Regions from separate parts of the Homo sapiens genome. Here region 2 is linked to region 1. The links are contacts of gene promoters, found by promoter capture Hi-C in human tissues and cell types (Jung and others, 2019). All regions are on one chromosome and are shown on one strand. Each heading gives the region's core, a stretch centred on a gene start or on the middle of the fragment in contact. The rest is flanking DNA. Distances are from core to core; before and after follow the strand shown. Region 1 holds the start of DISP1 (dispatched RND transporter family member 1). Region 2 overlaps DISP1 (dispatched RND transporter family member 1).

Evidence for each region. Contacts are between HindIII fragments. The study calls those that stand out against the background at their distance.
Region 2: a fragment that was not itself captured here is called in contact with the fragment with the promoter of DISP1 in region 1 in 3 of the 25 tissues and cell types used here (adrenal gland, bladder and liver).

The regions. Positions count from the first base shown.
Region 1 is chr1:222,812,687-222,819,077 of GRCh38, reverse strand. It overlaps DISP1 (dispatched RND transporter family member 1), which reads right to left and starts at 4,039. Exons shown (of 9, transcript NM_001377229.1): 1 at 4,000-4,039. RefSeq lists silencers at 4,079-4,178, 4,269-4,348 and an enhancer at 4,589-4,648. The HindIII fragment of the contact is 9,383 bases long and covers 1-6,391 here.
Region 2 is chr1:222,946,947-222,953,970 of GRCh38, reverse strand. All of the region lies in intron 3 of DISP1 (dispatched RND transporter family member 1), which reads right to left. Among named protein-coding and RNA genes, the nearest start is that of DISP1, 140 kb to the right of the region's middle. The HindIII fragment of the contact is 5,022 bases long and covers 1,282-6,303 here.

The sequences.
Region 1 (6,391 bases), core at 2,790-5,289:
GGTGCTAAACCATTAGAAACCACCTCCATGATCCAATCACCTACCACCAGACTCCACCTCTAACACTGAGAATTACAATTCGACATGAGATTTGGGTGGGGACACAGAGCCAAACCATATCAATATTCTCCTATTGACTATGCAACATTTTACACGCCACATATTAGTTTAATACAGCAAAAGTATTTTAAATGCTGTCATGGTTAGCCTTATGTGTCAACATGGTTAGGTTATAGCACCCAGGTATTTAATCAAACACCAATTTAGGTGTTGCTATAAACATATTTTGTAGATGTAGTTAATGTCTACAATCAGTTGACCTTAAGTAAAGGAGATTACCTTCCGTAATGTTGGTAGGACTCATCTAATCAGCTGAAGGCCTTAAGAGCAAAACCTGAGGTTTCCCAAAGAAGAAAGAATTCTGCCTCAAAACTACAGAATCAACTCCTGCCTAAATTTCCAGCCTGCTGGTCTGACCTACAAATTTTGTACTTGCCAACTCCCACAACTGCATGAGCCAATTTCTTAAAATAAATCTCTTTTAAAAATACACATATATATGTGATATTGGTCTGTTTCTCCGGAGAACCATAATTATACACTAACACAGTGAAAATCAAACTGGTACTATTTTGCTTCAAGAGGCTCCACCAGGTCATTCACACAAGAGGTGGGAGGCTCCACCAGGTCATTCACACAAGAGGTGGGAGGGATTCCCCTCCCAGCCCTCTCCAGGTAACAAAGGAGTGCATCATCTGTGTGGTATTCAAAAACTATAATAACAACTAAAAGTCTTTCTGCTGTATTATCACCAGGAGCTGGCAATTCTAAACCTCAGTGCTAAAATACTCTTTCCAACTATAGCAGACAGCTCCCACCATCAAGACCCCTAGTATGTCACTGGTAGTGGTCAACTTCCCCCACCCCCCCATGCAAATCATTTATCCAATAGTTCTTCTATTCCTTAGGCTCTCAAAATTAAAAACAAAACTAATAATAACAACAAAGGTTAAGGGCAATCAGTGTGTTTTCTACAATATTTGCCATTGTGAGTTATAGCCTATCACTTTAACAGAAAAGTTCATCTACAGTGTAATGTGATGCCTCACTCAAAGCAAAACTGAGTCTATTTATATAATCCAACAAATTATGATTTAGTATTAAAAGTATTTTTAAAACAATAACCTAAACAAGAGGTTCACAGTCATAACTACATGCCTATAGGCTGGAAAATGTGCCAAGATTTATGGGATCAGATTCAGCAGAATGGACAGGGCCCTACTAACAGGACTGCAGTGATTCATCCCCTTTTGAGTCACTCTGAGGCCCAAGTCATCTTGGTCACTATTGGAGAAAAGGTCTAACTCACCAGAGGAAAAGGACAGAAAGTATTACTAAAAGCAGTCAACCCTGTGTGAGTCAACCTCATTAAGGGCCATGCTTTTCATCAGAGGCAGTGCAGCAGCTGGACCTTAAGTTAACAGATCAGCAGTCTTTCGTAGCTCCTCATCCAAAAACTGTACTTCCCCATTGTAACAAATATTCTTGATTCTATCAAGTGGCAGGAAATGGCTTTCTAACTAGAGTATGCCGATAATTGAGAACGTACTATATAATCAGAAAATTGATAACCAAAGGGCATAGAAGCAACGAGCTCAACTTAGCAAATTATTTCGTATTTTACAAACTAGAGATTAAGGAAGACAAATGTATGTGTATATGAAGACAGTGTTTTGGTTATCACTATTTTGATAGTTCTTCCAATACAGACACTGTACATATTTCAGAAATAAAAAGAAATAGTGAATCTATAAAATAGCCAGCAGTTCGCTGTACTTAATCAAAAACTGCCATTATTGGTTAAACTGTAAAATACATCTAAATCCTACGGAATAACAAAAATAATTTATCTAGAGAGAAAGCTAAATTTACTAAACAATTAGAAGAAAGAATACAATTCCAAAGATTTTCCGGAATACAGGGCAATCCAACCTCAACATACCATTCATATATATAGCTAGCCCAACTTGCCCAAGAGGGCAAGTGCTCTTGTGTTTCAACAACGAGCACTTCCTCCAACCATGAACTAATGTCTAAAGACTTGCATGCTTTCTCAAGTGCTTTATTTCTCAAAAACCATGGGAAAAGGCGGAAGAAAAATAAAATCAAGTCTTATCAGATAAACAATATTGTCTACTTAAACAAATAAGATTAAATTGAGACATATACAGAAATTAACATGGCAGTTAATTCAATTACTTTAGAGATCAGTGTTATCTCTTCATTTTGTAATTTGAAAACTTATTCAATATGCTCATTTACATGTTAAGGCACTGTTTATGTTTAGGCCTTGCTTTACACTTGTAAATATCAGCAGTCCTCCTAAACATAAGGACGTTATAACTGTGTATTTCACTCAAGCACAGATATTCAAGGCCATCAAGAATTTATAAGCTAGCAAGATATCGCAGTACCAATAAATATAAAATGTTCTAGTTTTCCTGAATTAGTTCAAGTCAGACCACCAAATCAGATCTAAAAGTTACCTGTACTAATACAGTAATTTTTAAAACAAAAACTTCTAACATTTGAAATGTGAAACACCTGAAACAAGCAAAGCAATCATCAGATCTCACCCTCCATCAGTGACAGTGTTATGATTCTTCCTAGCTACCTTGCTCACTTTGTGGCAAAAATCCAATTCACTTACTACCTACTTAAAAGCTAGGAGAATCTTTGTAATTACACTGAGTGAAACACTATATTATGTAGATTAGGAAGCACATATTAATCACATCCAATAAAACATAAATGCAAGGTAAATAATAACTAAATCAATAATTACCTTTGGTAATAATAATGAGCCCACATACCAAACACTGGCCACTGGGGAAAACTAAATGTGCTAATGTGCGTGTAACAACAGATCTTGGGTTATCAATATTTTTAAAAAACACTGACAATGGCAAATATTTATATATATATATATATATATATATATATATTTCCTTACAGCAGAAATAAAAAGGAACAGTAAAATCTTAAGAACTGCTAGTAATTTGCTGCACCCTGATGTAAAATTGCCTTTATTGGTTAAACTAAAAGACTAAACCCAACAAAATAGCTTTTAGAAAAAATGTGTTAGAAAGTTGGACAGAAAAACAATGAGTTGAAACTGCAAACATTGACAGCACTGGCTTTCCATGTGATTATCACCATAATTCTGAACGCATTTAGTTCATCCCATGACAAGGGAAATAAGACAAGCTAAACTCTGCAGGGTAGAGAAGAGTCCAAAAGGAAAACTTTGGTTGTCTTCCTTGGGTGAAGAGAACTCTCAACTACTATCAGTTTGACAAAGACACGCAGAATCTGGGTGAAGCAAGAATTCGAGCGGTCCCTAGGAATATACAATATTTTCCCGAAATCCACACGCGCGGAGCGGGATATATTTCTAAAAACAAAAAACAAACTGCATGAATTGCAAATGAAGCAATAGGAGTTCAGCATCCAATAGGTGGCTGGTCATCTTTCTGGTTCGTTAGGTCAAGACGTCCTTCTCACCTACGACCCTCAGAGAAGGACTGACTCCCTCCTCTGTAACCTCTCCCTGGAAGCCAACCTTTGCCATCTCCTGCCATCCTCTCAGTCAATCCGCCAGGACCCGGGACACGCCCCCACGAATGACTACTTTCCTCCGAGATGCAACTCTGCCCCGTGTCATCCGCAACCTCCAGTCTCAGGGCCTCTTTGGCCTCAGGGTCCCCGGTGCCTCCCTCCTCAGTCCCTAAAGGCTGCCCTTAGGGCTCTCCTGGTTCCCCGTTCTCAGTCCTGGCCCTTCTCTCAAGCCTGGGGTCCCGGATTTCCCTCCACACGCGCGGGAGATGCCGACTCTCCCGTCCCTACCCGGTCTCCCAGTCCCGCGGCGCCGGGCGGCGGCGCGCCGAAAGGCATCCACTGAGGAAACAAGTGCCTGCAACGTTCCGGCTGCGAACTCACCTCCAGTCCGGGCTCTCGGATGCTGGCCCGGAGCCGGGCTTCCGCCTGGCGCGGTCCGCGTCGCGAGCGGGACCGGAAGTCCCGCCCCTCGCCCGCTCCCGGCCCGCTCCCGGCCCGCTGGCCTCGCTTGACTACCGCTCCCCGGGAGAGGGATCGCCGGCGGCGGGCGACGGGCGGCTGGCAAGGGGCAGAGGGCAGAGGGGCTTGGCTTGAAAGGGCGAGGCAGGCGCCAAAAAAATTCCCTCTCGCGCTCCTGCTCTTTCTAGTGTATCCATCGACCAGTGTGCAAATGCTTGACCAAGCGTCTATTCTGCCCAAGCCCAGTGAGGCACAAGATGACTCAGACACTGACCTCTGTCCTCACAATCTAGTTAAAAGTTGACATAAGTAAAAACAGAAGTAAATCACGCCACAAGACAGTGTTTCTTCTTTCATTATTCAGATTATTATCACCTGCTATATAGGCCTGTGAACAACCAGGCACTGCTGTAGGGGCTGGGGATAGAGCGAACAGAGGACAGCCCCACTCTCGTGAGGCTTACACTCAGGGCGAGGAACTAGCTATAGAATAAATCGAACAGCGGCGGCTCCCTCGGGAGGCTTATGCACAGAAACAAAAATATATAAGCAATGAAACCATCAAGTGTTAGAGGCACTCTGGTGGTGCTGTAGGGAACGGTGCAATGTAGAGAGCTGGGCGGAGAAGGCTTTCTAGAAATAATGACTCTTCAATTGAGACTGAAATAAATGATGAATAAGAGTTAAAGGACAGGCACAGTGGAGAAGGGCATGCAGAGAAGAAGGACGTTATGGAGTGAGAGCTTGGCTTGTACCGGTAGCTGGCCAGGAGTTAAGCAAAGTGTCAGATGGCAGATGCAAGAGCAAGCATAATGAGAAGAGACAAGGCCAAATCATGAAGAACGTTGTGCCCTATGCTTAAAAATTTTGGACTTCAGAGACTCCGTGCAACGGAATCCGTGGGGTCATCTAAGGGAATAGACAAAACAGTGAGTCATGGGGTTGACTAGGGGGATTGTCCTAGTCATCAAAGAAAAATAATACATCATGAATAGCATGTTTTATCCTTGAGGGTGCTTTCTTGAACTGCCATACCCAGATGTAAAGGCAATAGACGGCTACCACAACCCTATAAAGGCAGGACCACAAGGGATCATACCCCTCAGGTTGCTGCATTGAGCAAATCACCCCAACCAACTGAGATGCTAACTGAAGTCACAGGGAACTATGGAATGGGCCCAGAAGAAAGAAGCTTCAACACCAGCTACAGTAATGAGGACTGTTGCATTTTTTGTTTGTTTTCTTTGCTACCAGTGTTTAATAAATACTCTCTTGCACACCAAGCCCTTTCTTTGCCTTTTTAAAAAGGAATGGTATAATACATACATTTTTCTTTTTTTCTCCTTTTGCCAGCAAAAGGCCATACATTGCAATATATGGAGATAGGATTACAGTAGAAGAAAATGAGGAATGGATATCGTGTAGAAAGTCTGTACTTAGAGGGCATAACATCAACTCTAAGTGAAGTAAAAGGTCACGCGTTTGGGTTTTCTCCCATTGGGAAGGTTAGTAGTCCATTTGTGGTGATACTTGAAATAACTGATTCACATAGCGGCAAGGTGTATTTTTGAAAGGATGGAAAGAAGAGAGTGTGTATGTGGTGTGATGTGGGGGGTGTGTGTGTGTGTGTGTGTGTGTGTGTGTGTGCCCACGCTGGGTGCCAAGAAGTAGAATGTAATAGACACTCTGTGAAATGTTTCCTTATAGCTTCTCACAATTCCTTTTTTTGTAGGAATGGCTGAAATACATAGAGGCAGTCCTTTTATGGGCCACATATGCACAAGCGACCATGTCCTAGTGTGACCAGCTACTCTGGTTTGCTAAAGACAGGGGGATACCAGGATGCTGGACTTTCGGTGCTTAAACTGGGATAGTTTTGCGAAAACTGAGACAAGTTGGTTGCGCTACCATGTCCCTTGTCTACATAACAGATTAATTCAGAGGTGGGCATATCCTAAACCAGACCATTTAGACTCTTTGCCCCAGAAATCTTAAATGAGGCATAGAGAAACACAGAGAGAATATAGTTACTCAGTAGAACTGAGTCACAAATGGCAGTTCCCTAAAGAAAAAATCTATTAACACCCTTTGCCAAAGATCCAGGACCTGCCCTGTTTCCTTTGGTTATAGGAGATATCCCTGTATAATTCCAAAACTTTTTTTTTTTTGGCTAGTCAAAGAAGATTGCTGCTGCTTGCAACCAAAATAATCTTAAGGAGCATATTCATTTCCAATCCTTGTTTAAGATAATGTGCTCCAAGAGTCTCTTCTGAATGGGCACTGAGCTGAACGAACCATACTCATTGCCACAGCA
Region 2 (7,024 bases), core at 2,543-5,042, 140 kb before region 1:
ATCTTATATTAATTAGTTTTATAAAATAAAGAAGGCATTGTTTTCTGACGTTCATTATTAAAGTAAAAGATGACCAAGCCTCATATTCTAAAATGTATTACAGAATGTACAATGTATTCCTTGAGGCATAGCACACTCTAAAATCTGTTCATTTATAATAAAAGAAGAACTCTCTCAAAGAAGTCTTTCTAAAAAATAGGCCTTCACTCTGTCTGACTGCCAAGCTGACTTACTTTGGCAAGCAAGCCTGGAACATTTTAAATTTTATAAACATTATCCCTTTTTAAAAAGTTAATTTGACTACTTTAAGGAATGTCAAAATAAATCCTGGTTTCAGTGAAATCAAAATTAAATCTTACCAGACTTCTTCTAAGATCAAATATCATAATCAGATTTATGTAATCAGTATAAAGTATAAAGGCTCTCAGTTTCGGGGGCTAAAGAGGCCTATTTATTCTTCACAACCCTTTTCCTCCTCCGGAAGGCAAATGAGTGACCATCTTTTCCTATAGGTTGATGGTGTGAGGTGTGTCATTTATAAATAAAAATGAAAAGGAACACATCATGTCTTTATTTAAACCAGGTTCAGTAATAGCTTCATTTCTAAAACAATACCAACAGGATTAAGCGCAGGCATGAAACAATAACAAAAACAACAACAAAACTTAAAAGAAAAGTGAAAGGAACAAAAATGGAGAACAGAAGGGAGATTAAAATTTGGTAACAGGCACTGTGTTAAGTGCAAAATAGCTACTGTTACTCCCATTTTACAGAGATGCTCTTACTACTTTATGTTGTACAATGAGGAAAGGATTGAGAAAAGAAAAATAAATTACAATGTAGCAACAATGATTGCTTCTAGAGACTAGCTATACTTCTCTATCCTGGAGAAAAACTGCATTTTTACATTTATATTTTAGATCTACTTACAAAAAGCCCGGCAACTATAAACTAAATAAGATGATAGTTTTTGACTCATAAATAAAGATATGCAGTGGCTTTTGTGGAATGTAATTGCGGCCTCTAGAAGATTCTGAAGGATATTGCCTACTTGTTACACAATTTTTGCTAATGTAGGACTTTTAGTCCTTCAGATTTTTTGTTTGTTTGTTTGTTTGTTTTGTTTTTAGACAGTCTCCCTCTGTCGCCAGGCTGGAGTGCAGTGGCGCGATCTCGGCTCACTGCAACCACCGCCCAGGTTCAAGCGATTCTCCGGCCTCAGCCTCCTGAGTAGCTGGGACTACAGGTGCGTGCCACCACACCCAGCTAATTTTTGTATTTTTAGTAGAGATGGGGTTTCACCATGTTGGCCAGGATGGTCTCAATCTCTTGACCTTGTGATCCGCCTGCCTCGGCCTCCCAAAGTGCTGGGATTACAGACTTGAGCCACTGCGCACAGCTGTCCTTCAGGTTTTTGAAGGGATTTTATTTTTGTCATTTCTTTGTTATTTAATAAACAAAACACAAGCAAATACTAAGTAGAATTATGTCAACAACAACAACAACAAAAAAGTATTCACTGTCAAATATTGCTGTTATTCTATATCATATAAGTTTCATTTGCTGCCATGGACATTGAAAAGGGATCTCAGTTGTTTTAACAGAGCCAAGAAAGGTAGTCCTGTTCAATAAAACTCTCTGCAATGATGGAAACGTTTTCCATCTGTGCTGTCCAATATGTAGCTACTAGCCACATGTGGCTACTGAGTACTGAAATTGTGAGCAGTGTAACCAAATAACCAAATTTTTAATTTTACTGGCTTTATTGAAAAGCCAATGGTTTATTGAAAAGCAAATGTCTAAAGAATGCAGTTTAGCTATTCCTTCTTGCAAAAGACACTTGTCCAGCAGTTCCAGAGAGTCAACAATTTATATAAAAAATAAAGAGAAATGATTGTTTCACTATTAGTAATCAATCTTTCAATGGTAAGAGCGGAAAAGAGGGGAATATGAATTTGTAAAACTGTATAGTCTAGTTCTCTTTTACTATTAAAACTTTATACATAAAAATTTATACATAAAAGTTTACACATAAAACTTGCCTGTGCCTCTGTAAAAGCACTGGTATTTAACTTCTGTGCTCCAGAGAATACAACAGCTATTCTGTAAATACTTACCGATCAAAGATGGCAATCTATCTATGGTCACCCTATGCTAAAATCTAAGTGTCTTGTCTTGTCCACTCTACTTCTACATCTTTGAAGTCAGGAACCAGACTTTGCAGTTTCCACCTGTCTCCAGCACCTAACACTTACTAAGTACTCATCAAGCACTTGCTAAATAAGTGAATAACTAACTCTGAATTTCTCCATTCATTGCTGCAACATCTTAGAGAAGCATTTGAATGGACTCTGGGTGATCTGAGTAAAGCAGAGACTGTGGGATCTGCGTCAATGATCAGGTTCATGCCACAATGTTGATGAAGTGTTCAAAGTGATTTCTGGCTCAAATTTTCTGACTAACAAAATAATACAATCACCAGGGCTAAGGAGAGGGGAAAGGATGTCATGGTACAGCACATGCCAATAAACAAGAATTCTGGTGGTAGAATTCTTGTCTTTTTAATATAACATGAGAATTCTCATTTCTTACTTTTTTTTTTTTGTTTTAAAAGAGGCCCCTTCATAGAAAATAACTAATGCCCTAAGGGGAAACAAAAAGAAAACCTCTGAGAAAAATGAGTCAGAAATTAGAAAATGAATAAAGAAATGAAAGGAAATGTAAGTTATAAAAATTATACAGTCATAACATATGGGGGTGGCAGGGACAATATTTAGTTAACTTTAAGAGGCTAAGCTAGTCCCAGGGTTCTACGGTTCCCTCTACGCCAAGCATTCTTAACTCTGTATAGCTCTAATTCCTCTAGTGAGTCACATGAAACATTCAAAATGGCCATCTGTCTATGAAATCACCTTAGGTAAATAAAAATGCATTTGGCAGGTACCCAAAAATATCACAGGTTCCCTATCATGATAATGAGTCTGTGGCATTGCCAAGTATCATTTATGGAGTCCTCTGTTACAATCAAGAATATTTCTTTGCAACACCGAATTAAAAGGTAAGTATAGTTTAGATTAGAACTCTAGTGTGCTATTTTTGGATGCAGAACTCCTTATTAATTTTGCAATAATACCACTACTCTTTCACTTTAATACGGCAATAAGAAGATCCCAAATGAATAACTCAAAACTTGCTTCAACCAGCACACGTGGAATGTGACTGGCTTTTGAGAGGTATTTTCCAGCTCTCTGGAGGATAAAGAACAGATCATCAAATGGACTGTTCAGGACGTAGATTGGGGACACCCACAATGACCCTCCGCTCCCACAATCTTGTTCTCTTTACCTTTCTCACATGGGTTTTTTTTTTTTGAGACGGAGTCTCGCTCTGTCCTCGAGGCCGGAGTGCAGTGGTGCGATCTCAGATCACTGCAAGCTCTGCCTCCCGGGTTCAGGCCATTCTCCTGCCTCAGCCTCCCGAGTAGCTGGGACTACAGGTGCCCACCACCACGCCCAGCTAATTTTTTGTATTTTTAGTAGAGAAGGGGTTTCACTGTGTTAGCCAGGACGGTCTCGATCTCCTGACCTCATGATCCGCCTGCCTCGGCTTCCCAAAGTACTGGGATTACAGCGTGAGCCACTGCGCCTGGCCCTTTCTTACATGTTTTAAGAAATATTTTAAAGCTTTGGTTTTTGAAAGCTTTCCCTTCACAACTTTCCTCCACTTTCCATGTTTTGCCTCCTCGAGTCCCTTCATTCATTTCTAGTCATCTTTCAAGGGCCATTCATGTTCTGTTCTTCTCAGTCAGACTGTCCCTAACCTCAATAACCTACAGGGATCCTTCCAGGGGATCCTTCCCACCTCTCAACTCTTAGAGTTATTTATTGTTTCTACTGCAAAAGAAATATCTTCTTATTCTACTTATTTTATTTTTAATTCCCCAGGTGACTCCAAAGATGATCAGCTAGGTTTAGGACTTGTTGGTATAAGTCTTGCCTCATGGTGAGGAGAGACTATTTTCAGCCTTTTAAAATTCCTTATTGTGGCTGGGCGCTGTGGCTCATGCCTGTAATCCCAGCACTTTGGGAGGCTGAGGCAGGCGGATCACTTGAGGCCAGGAGTTCAAGACCAGCCTGGTCAACATGGTGAAACCCCATCTCTACTAAAAGTACAAAAATTAGCTGGGCGTGGTGGTGTGCGCCTGTAATCCCAACTGCTCAGGAGGCTGAGGCAGAAGAATCCGTTGAACCCAGGAGGTGGAGGTTGCAGTGAGCTGAGATCGTGCCACTGCACTCCAGCCTGGGCGATGGAGCAAGACTCTGTCTCAAAAAGAAACAAATAAATAAAATAAGATAAAATAAAATTCCTTATTGTTCTCAATTAGACATGTTAATTAAGGGCTGAATAATGTATATGAGGACAGGAATCTACAAATATAAAAGCCTGAAGCTTTAAAATGAAATCTAAAGCTTTAAAATAAAATCGATTTAAGCTACTTAATATTTGGCAATAATTAAAATAGACATATTAAATGTGATCCTTGCAATAATCTTTATTTTAATTTTATGTATTTTTTTTTTTGAGAGTCTCCCTCTGTCGCTCAGGCTGGAGTGCAGTGGTACGATCCTGGCTTACTGCAACCTCCACCTCTCGGATTCAAGTAATTCTCCTGCCTCAGCCTCCCAAGTAGCTGGGACTACAGGTGCGCACCACCACACCAGGCTAATTTTTGTAGTTTAGCAGAGACAGGGTTTCGCCATTGCTGGCCAGGCTGGTCTCGAACTCCTGACCTCAAGTGATTGGCCTGCCACAGCCTCCCAAAGTTCTGGGATTACAAGCTCAAGCCACCACGCCTGGCCTTAATTTTATTAATCGGAACACTAAAAAGGAATTTTTTTTTAAAAAAAACACACAGATGGTTGATATAATGAATCTTTTAGAAAGATTTATTAAAGCTTAAAGAATCAAGAGGGGATGAAAGAGAGTCTACTATACAAAAGGTGGTAAGTAGCAAATGGCCTACGTTAAAATTATATTTTCTATCTGATTGATTCTTTAAAACATTCTCTATGGCTTAAGTGCTTTATAAACAAATAAAAACTTTAGAAAACACTTTCAAATACAAACAGGTGGGCCCATTTGTGGTATAGGTGCAAATAACAATAAAAATTGATAGCACTTAGGATCTTCCATCACCATACAATTTTACTCTAAGGCGGTCAATGTTTAACACATCCTTTAAAGTAATGTGAAGTCATAAATACACCTTAAACATTAATTGAATAACATTTCATTAAGTACTTACTTGACCTTATCAATTTAAAAAGAACTTAAAAATTACATAGCAATAAACCACAATAAAGAAAACTAAAAAGACTTGAAGTTCCTGGTCGAGATCAACCTCTAGAACCTTTGTTACAGTAAGTTCCTGAAAGAGTTGCGTAGAATAATCAAAGGCAGTAAAGCATGGTACAACATCCTCATTTTCAGAATTCCTTACCAAGGACATCCTGTGCAGACTTTCCCAAACTGCCCTGTTCTCCCATACATAGATAGCAGCTCTATCGAAGAGCACATTTGCTTCTGTGGATATTTTATTGGTTGGGTAAAGGACGAGATAGCATCTCACTCAGTGCCTTGCCCATAGCACAATTCTGCAAATATAATACCTGCTGGCCTGAGTCAAAGTGCTTCAGTGTTCATTCTAAGATAACCCCCACCAGTATTGCCCTCAGTGCATTGTCATGTATTACTCAGCAACCTCATTCTTTCAAATAAGCTCAAGGGACATCACACTTTCACTGTTACTGTTACTCTGTAGTCCTCTCTGGAAGCTCAATGTCTCAGCTCTGTTTACTTAGTTCCCTTCTTCTGTCTTCCCCATTTTAGTGAATGGCATTACCATCTACCCAACCAGTTGCTCAAGCCAGGAAACTGAAAATCAGTTGTGATTCTTACTCCCTTTGCCCCTCCGATATCCAATCATCCACCAAATCTAGTAGATTCCACCTCCTAAATCTCTCTAGAATGAATTTATTTCTAAATCATGGTTCAAGTTATCACATTTCTCACTTGAACTACTGCAACAAGCCTTATAGTGTTCTTCCTATCTACAACGGTCCTGACCCAATTCAATCTACTCTCCACAATGCAAACGATGAAATTTCCTAAAATGTTTCTTACTGTGTTTTTTTTTTCTGCTTTAAAATTTATAATCTCACATCAATTAGGATGCCTACTCTTAAAAAAGAAAAAACAGATAAAATAACAAGTGTCGGCAAGGATCTGGAAACACTGGAACTTTTTGCACTGCTGGTGTAAAATGGTGCAGCCACTATGGAAAACGGTTCCTCAAAAAGCTAAAAACAGAATTACCATATGCTCCAGTAATTCCACTTCTGGTCTGAGCATATACCCAAAAGAACTGAAAGCAGGGACTTGAACAGAACCCAAGCTCATAGCAGCATTATTCACAATAGCCATGATACCTGAAAGATCGAAGTGTCCATCAATGAACTGATAAAATGTATTGTGTAATTGATAAAATGATAAAATGTAACTGATAAAATGATAAAATATAATATATAAATATACAATGGAATATTATTCAGCCTTAAAAAGAAAGGAAATTATGACACATGCTACAACATGAATGACCCTTGAAGACATTATGTGGAGTGAAATAAGCCAGACAAAAAAAAGGCAAATACTATAGGATTCAACTTATTTGAGGTATCTAGAGAAGTCAAATTCATGGAGACAAAAAGTAGAATAGTGGTTTCCAGGGGCAGGCAGAGTTATAATTTAGTGAGTATGGAGTTTCAGTTTGGGAAGATGAAATAGTTCTGGACAAAGGTAGTAGTGATGGGTGCACAACAAGGTGAATGTACTTAATGTCACTAAACTGTATACTTAAAAATGGTTAAAATATTAAGTTTTATGTTATGTATATTTCACCACAATAAAAAAAATCACAAACACACACAAATCTATAATGAGTCCTCATTAGCCTCAGGATGAAATC